Regions from separate parts of the Homo sapiens genome. Here region 2 is linked to region 1. The links are contacts of gene promoters, found by promoter capture Hi-C in blood cells and fetal thymus (Javierre and others, 2016). All regions are on one chromosome and are shown on one strand. The core of a region is centred on a gene start or on the middle of the fragment in contact, and the rest is flanking DNA. Distances in the headings are between cores, read along the strand shown. Region 1 holds the start of TET2 (tet methylcytosine dioxygenase 2). Region 2 overlaps ELOVL6 (ELOVL fatty acid elongase 6).

Region 1 (3,103 bases), core at 497-2,996:
AATGTAATGATTTCATTAGCCAGGCAACAATACCCACAGTATCACACCAAACCAAACCAATGTCTTTTCTCTGTGAATCCCAACTTCCCTTAAGATACAATCTTATTCCTATGATGGATCATTTGTTGATGAATATCTTTGAATTTGGGTTTCCCATTATAATCCCTGACTGAAGGGGAAAAAGCACAATGTGTGATTTGAGATATTAAATTCATGAATGTATTCCACTCCCTAGACACGTAAATATATAAATATTTCACTAAATTTTATGCACTAAATTTTACCGCTGGAAAATAAGCCTTTTCTCAATTCTTAAACATTAGATGAAGAAGGGAGAACTCCCTCAATGTAATTAAAAGTATATCATGAGGGGAATAACCAGCAAATAACACTTATATTTCATTTTCGGCCTTTCCAGGAGTCTATCCAGGCCACACTTCATTATGTCATAGGTAGAAAACTCTCCATACAAACCCTATTAGCTTAATAAAACTAGACAAGCAGTCCCAGTGAAAAGATTCAGCAAGATGCGAGTGAGGTGTGTGTGTGTGTGTGTGTGTGTATGTGTATGAGAGAGAGAGAAGAAAGAGTAGAGAGGAGACACAGAGAGAAAGGCAGAGAGATGAAAGACCAAAGAGAGAAGCCAAAGAGAAATTTGGATGGGACTGTTATAAATCTGCTCTTCACTTCTTTGCTGGGATTGGGTTTCATTTCTTTAGGCGCCCCTGACCTTGCAGTCTTGCAACTCCAACGCTGCGCTCCCCACCCCCTCCCGCCCCCTCCCCGGGCCTGCGCCTGCCTTTGTGTCTGCCTGTCACTTACCAAGGAACCAAACGAAGCTGATTCGGGAGAAGCACAAAGCCGGGACACAGATTTGTCCATAAATTCTCTTACATACATTCCCCAGGCTGGAAGGCTCAGCCCAGCGCTGACTTATGTACCTTGAGAAAAGTGAGTTCTGGTCTTGTTTGGGGAACCAGAGAAACTATTCTTTCCTCTTTCACTCAGCGCCGCTAACAAAACGCGCGGACTTAAGGAAAAAAAAAACCCACTCAGTGTACTCCAATTCCACTCCCTGTGACATTCACTTCGTACAGCCCCCTAAAGGGGGATAAGAAGGTAGGAGGAGGCAGACACAAACCCAGACCCAGACCCTACAGCTGATAAAAGGGTCGAAAAACACCCTATCAGTGTTCTCTCTGAGGTTGTTCAGGATAAACGGGAGACTCGTTTCACTTACACGAAAGAAACAGGGGAAGAGGATTAAAGGGAAAAGTAGTGCCCCCAAAGCTGAACTATTTTAGAAAGGAAAGCAAATTTAAAAATCACTTTTCTGAGGATTAAAAAAGGCCGGGAAACCGGCTCGTCGGAGGCACAAAGGTAAGTTTTCTGGGAGATGAGGGGACGAGCATTAGGAGGAGAGAAGAGAACACAGAACTACAGGTTTAAAAGGGGTAGAGGGAATTAAAACTATATTTGTCAGCCATGTTGAAGAGGCTCCAGTAATTTGTGAAGCTTCCCTCTTCCCTCTTGGTATTTGTGGGTGACACTACAGGGTTTGCTCCCCAGTCCCTGGAAGCCCGAGAAAAAGCGAAGGGGAGAAGAAAGGGAGAGTTTCGCGGCATAAGAGAAGCGCTCTGACCTCGTTCTCGTCCCTCAGCCTTGCAGCAATCCAGCAGTTGCAGTCGGGTCTCCTTTCTAACAAATCCTAAAGGGCAGCCATCTTGCTTCCTTCTGCTTCTCTACGAAAGCAGCCTAGCCTCCGCATCAATATTCATAAGGCAGTTTGACGTCTGTTCTCATCACTCAGCGGGGCCGGCGTCTCGGGGCGGCCGCGCCGAGGGGGCGGACGTGACTTGCATGCGAGCGGGACCCGGGCGCGCGGCGCTCGCGAGGAGGCGGCGGCGGCCGCCCAAGCTCTCGCCGCTGCCACTGCCGCTACCGCCGGCTCTCCTCCTCCGCCCGGGCCTCCTCCTGCTCCGCCCCGGCCTCCTCCCGCTCCGCCCCGGCCTGCGCCGCCGCCCTGGGGCCCTCAGCCCCGGCTCCCAGGGAATTAGCCCCCCGCACCGGGCGTCCAGCACAAAGGCCGGCGGCACCTGGGGCCGTACAGCGGGGCGCGCAGTGGAGACCTGGGCTGCCCTCACGCCGTGCAGTGGCGCGGGGGGAGTGGTGCGCCCGGACCAGCGCGGAGTAGGGGCCAGGGCTGGCGAGCGCGGGGAAGGGTGCAGCCCTCGGGAACCCCGGGGACCTCGGCGGGTCTCCACCCCTGGGAGAAGAAGCAGAGCAAGCGCGAAGGTTGGGGGCGAGGTGGGAGGTTGGGATGGCACGGGTGCCTGGACAAAGACGTGACATCTAAGATTTCCCTTTGAAACTTTTTGCTGGTCTGCACTCCACCACCACTTCGAGGTCCCGCGCACACGCCCCCGCGCGCACCCACCTCCTCCGGAGTGTACCCGCACGTGCCCTCGCTCTGGCCCCCGCCTCCACCCACTGGCACCTCTCCCCGCACCACACCTCCGCTTGCGCCCACCTTACCCTCAGAGGCCCGCGTCTCTATCTCCCTTTAGATCCCGTTGCCCGCGCTCTCCTTTCCCTTTTCTGTCGCTTTAATCTCATTCAGCAGAAGCGCTCCCCTGTTTCACCGAGGGCATGCCCTTAGTGCTTTAGGGGCCTGTATTTTTAAAGACCCGACAAACTGGGAAATTGACCGAGTTCTGTTTCTCCCCGCCCCGGCCCACCTTCTGTTTACTTTAGCCACGTGGGCTGAGTAGAAGGGGGCGTCTCACAGATTGAAATAGGTTTCTCACTAGTGACCCCCTACTTCTCGCTAGGAGGAAATAAACCTGCACTTTCAAATGCTTAAGTTGCCTCTCGTAAGAGCCCTTACTTTGAAGTAGTTTCCCCCCGTACAATTAAGTAATGAAGAAACCGACCGATACAGAGCTAATTCCGAATGACGGATGCTTGATTTTCCCTGACATTCGGAGCTCTGTAACTATGCTCTTCCTTTGACCGGAGTTTTTCTCTATTGCCGAGTAGTGTTACTTCCCCCTTCTAATGCTCCTTTTTCTAATCATCAACTTTTTATTTGAAGATGAGATGA
Region 2 (2,961 bases), core at 182-2,681, 5.0 Mb before region 1:
GAGTGCTTTGCATAAGGCACATTCTTGAGAAAATGTCCAGTGAGTTGAAATGGTGATTGGTGCCCATTTTATTGCCAGCACTACTCGTTAATACCCGAAGGTTAACAGGCTAGAACTTGCATACCGTGGCAGAGTCACATCTTGGGATTTTTCCCTTCCTGGCTTCTGCTCTCTGTTGATGTTATGTTCTTAGATTGCTTATTGCAGTCAAAGAACCCTGCTGGCTGTTACCCCTCCCTTGCAACTCTTCCTGACCCTAATTGTCTTACTTTCATGTTTTTTTTTAAATGCCAGATTTTGTGCATTTCTCCCAATATCCCAGGGTGCCCAATTTTATCTCTCCTCCCTCCCCAAAAACTGTACAGCCAAAAAGACTTTAAACACTTTTTAAAATTTAATTTTATTAGCCGGGTGTGGTGGCTCCTGCCTGTAATCCCAGCACTTTGGGAGGCTGAGGTGGGTGGATTACCTGACGACAGGAGTTCGAGACCAGCCAGGCCAATATGGTGAAACCCCATCTCTACTAAAAATACAAAAAAATTAGCCGAGCGTGGTGGCGGGTGCCTGTAATCCCAGCTACTCGGGAGGTTGAGGCAGGAGAATTGCTTGAACCCGGGAGGTTCAAATTAAAGCTTTTAGTTTTTATTTTTAATAGAATCCAGCTAATGCAGGACAAAAAGTCTTGAACCAGATTTTCTTTTCACTCCCTTTTTAATAGGAGAAGGGAACTCCATAACCAAGGCTTAGACCCTCTTGAGGAGAGAGGAACTTGAGGAAACCATAAAATCTTACCTTTTTCAGACTCATTAACTTAAAATGGTTTGAAATAGCTTCTGGAGGAAAAACATGATATAGTGAAGCTTCTACTCTGTCTTTTGGGAATTTATGGTTGTCCTTATAAATCTCTTCTTAGTAACAGGCAAAACTTGTTAATTTAGAGAATTAAAACATCCTCTCTCAAAAGTGAACTACATTGGCTTTTGAAGAACTGTGAGAATGGCCAGGAGTAGTATTTTGCCAGTATGCTGCCTTTGCTAACTAGCATCATTTAAGAGGACCTAAAATAAGAATACTTTATTAAACATACGCTATAATCCATACTTACTAACCATAGCGCAAATTAATGTTAACATACCCTATAATCCATACTTACTAACCATAGCACGTGTTAATGGAATGGGGCCCGACTTTTGGAGTAGCATTTGTATAAACCCTAAAGGGTTCAACTGAGGCTAGTTTTCAAGTTTATTGCTGCTTTAATGAATCATTAACCTCATACTCATTGGCCTAGCCATGAAAGTAAATACTGCAGACTTTTTTTACTTTGCTAGCAAAAAGTTTCATATATAATAGGTTAGAATAGCAATTGAAATGCAAAGTAATAAGTGTATTCCCTTGTAGAATCATCCTGGGCCTCATCTTGAAACTACATGTCCAGTGAAAAATATCCTGTCTGGTTATATTATCTGGTCAATGAGAGTTTATTACATGAGGTAGAGAAAAATGTCTGCTCATAGGTCCAAATAGGAGTTTTGAATTCTAATTTTCACTGAAAAGTCCTTGCAATTTTACAACATTGAAAATAGAGACATTTTGCTCTTTTATGAGATGTCTGGCCTTTACCTGTTTTTCTCACTAAGAGCTGACTTAAGTTGGAAGTGCTGCTAGCCAGGGAGCAAAATCACCTGGTGATTGCTAAGGCGACATATAATTCATTGAGTGAGAAGGGAAGCTGGGCTCTCTCTGCCTTCTCTTTCAGCAGCCTGCCAGGTTTGTGCTAACAGCAGTGGATGCTAGTTGCTCCAGTTGTAATTGTCTAGCCAATGATGATTATCTTCTGATGTCGGCTGACACGGTGCCCACCAATAGGAAAGCAGGAGGCCTGTGCTGACTGCTGTAACATTATGTATGTGAGGTGACGTCTTCAAAGGGCTTGCCTAGAACTTCATGAAACCCTCCCCCTCTCCTGGCATTCTCCACACATCCAGCCTTTCAAAGCTTTATATATTTTTCTGACTTTTCTCCCCACTCACTCCCTTGGTGGTGTAAAAGGGTTTACTTGTTTTAACATTTTGTATTCTGTATTATAGAGTCTATAAGATAGTATAGGAATTTTAAGAATTAAATGCTGTTCAGCTGAGGAAGCCTTTTTATTCACAAATTTGTTTTTACCAAAGGTAAAAATGGAGTGAAACATTTTATTTTATTTTGTTTTATTTTTGAGACAGGGTCTCACTCTGTTGCCCAGGCTGGAGTGCAGTGGCACAATCTTGGCTCACTGCAACCTCTGCCTCCGGGTTCCAGTGATTCTTATGTCTCAACCTCCCAAGCAGCTGGGATTACAGGTGCCTGCCATGACACCAAGCTAATTTTTGTATTTTTAGTAGAGATGGGAATTCACCGTGTTGGTCAGGTTGGTCTTGAACTCCTGACCTCAAGTAATCCGCCCACCTCGGCCTCCGAAAGTGCTGAGATAACAGGCTTGAGCCACTGCAACCGGCCGTGAAACATTTTAAAAGGAGTTGTACATCTATATCTTTTTTGTAGGTGAAGTTTGGAAAGTAACACGATGTACAATTTCATGATTAAAGAACATAAAAAGCACTAAAAACCTGTGTTAGCATTTAACTCAAATATAGCAGCATAAAAAATATAGCAGCATAATGTTAATGAAACTGTTCAAATGCAGACATAGTATTTGGCTGTTGTTTTTCATTTAGTGAGGATTGCTTTGAATTGCTTCCTGAAGTCTTCCTTGCAACCTTCTACATTCATTTGTAAGAAAAATGGCTGGAAAACAGTGCATCTGTGACTATGGAACAGAGTAGGCCAGAGTTTCATTTCATCATTAACATTGCAGCAACAAATTTGGTCAGCTCTGTAGGAATATAGTGTGTCTATATTGTACTCATGTCACTTGCTGTTTATTTTGAGGTATCACAGTTCATATTGATTTAGGAT

The links. The method cuts DNA at HindIII sites, captures the fragments that hold promoters and counts their contacts. A CHiCAGO score of 5 or more calls a contact.
Region 2: a fragment that was not itself captured here is called in contact with the fragment with the promoter of TET2 in region 1 in 1 of 17 cell types (fetal thymus); the score reaches 10.4 in fetal thymus.

What each region holds. Positions count from the first base shown.
Region 1 is chr4:105,145,519-105,148,621 of GRCh38, reverse strand. TET2 (tet methylcytosine dioxygenase 2) reads right to left here and starts at 1,746. Exons shown (of 11, transcript NM_001127208.3): 1 at 1,643-1,746. It overlaps LOC124900868, which reads left to right. Exons shown (of 3, transcript XM_047416559.1): 2 at 1,661-3,103. The coding sequence ends at 2,349. RefSeq lists silencers at 772-841, 1,805-2,484 and enhancers at 1,172-1,221, 1,565-1,734. The HindIII fragment of the contact is 4,110 bases long and covers 1,518-3,103 here.
Region 2 is chr4:110,192,864-110,195,824 of GRCh38, reverse strand. All of the region lies in intron 1 of ELOVL6 (ELOVL fatty acid elongase 6), which reads left to right. Among named protein-coding and RNA genes, the nearest start is that of ELOVL6, 4.3 kb to the left of the region's middle. The HindIII fragment of the contact is 1,138 bases long and covers 863-2,000 here.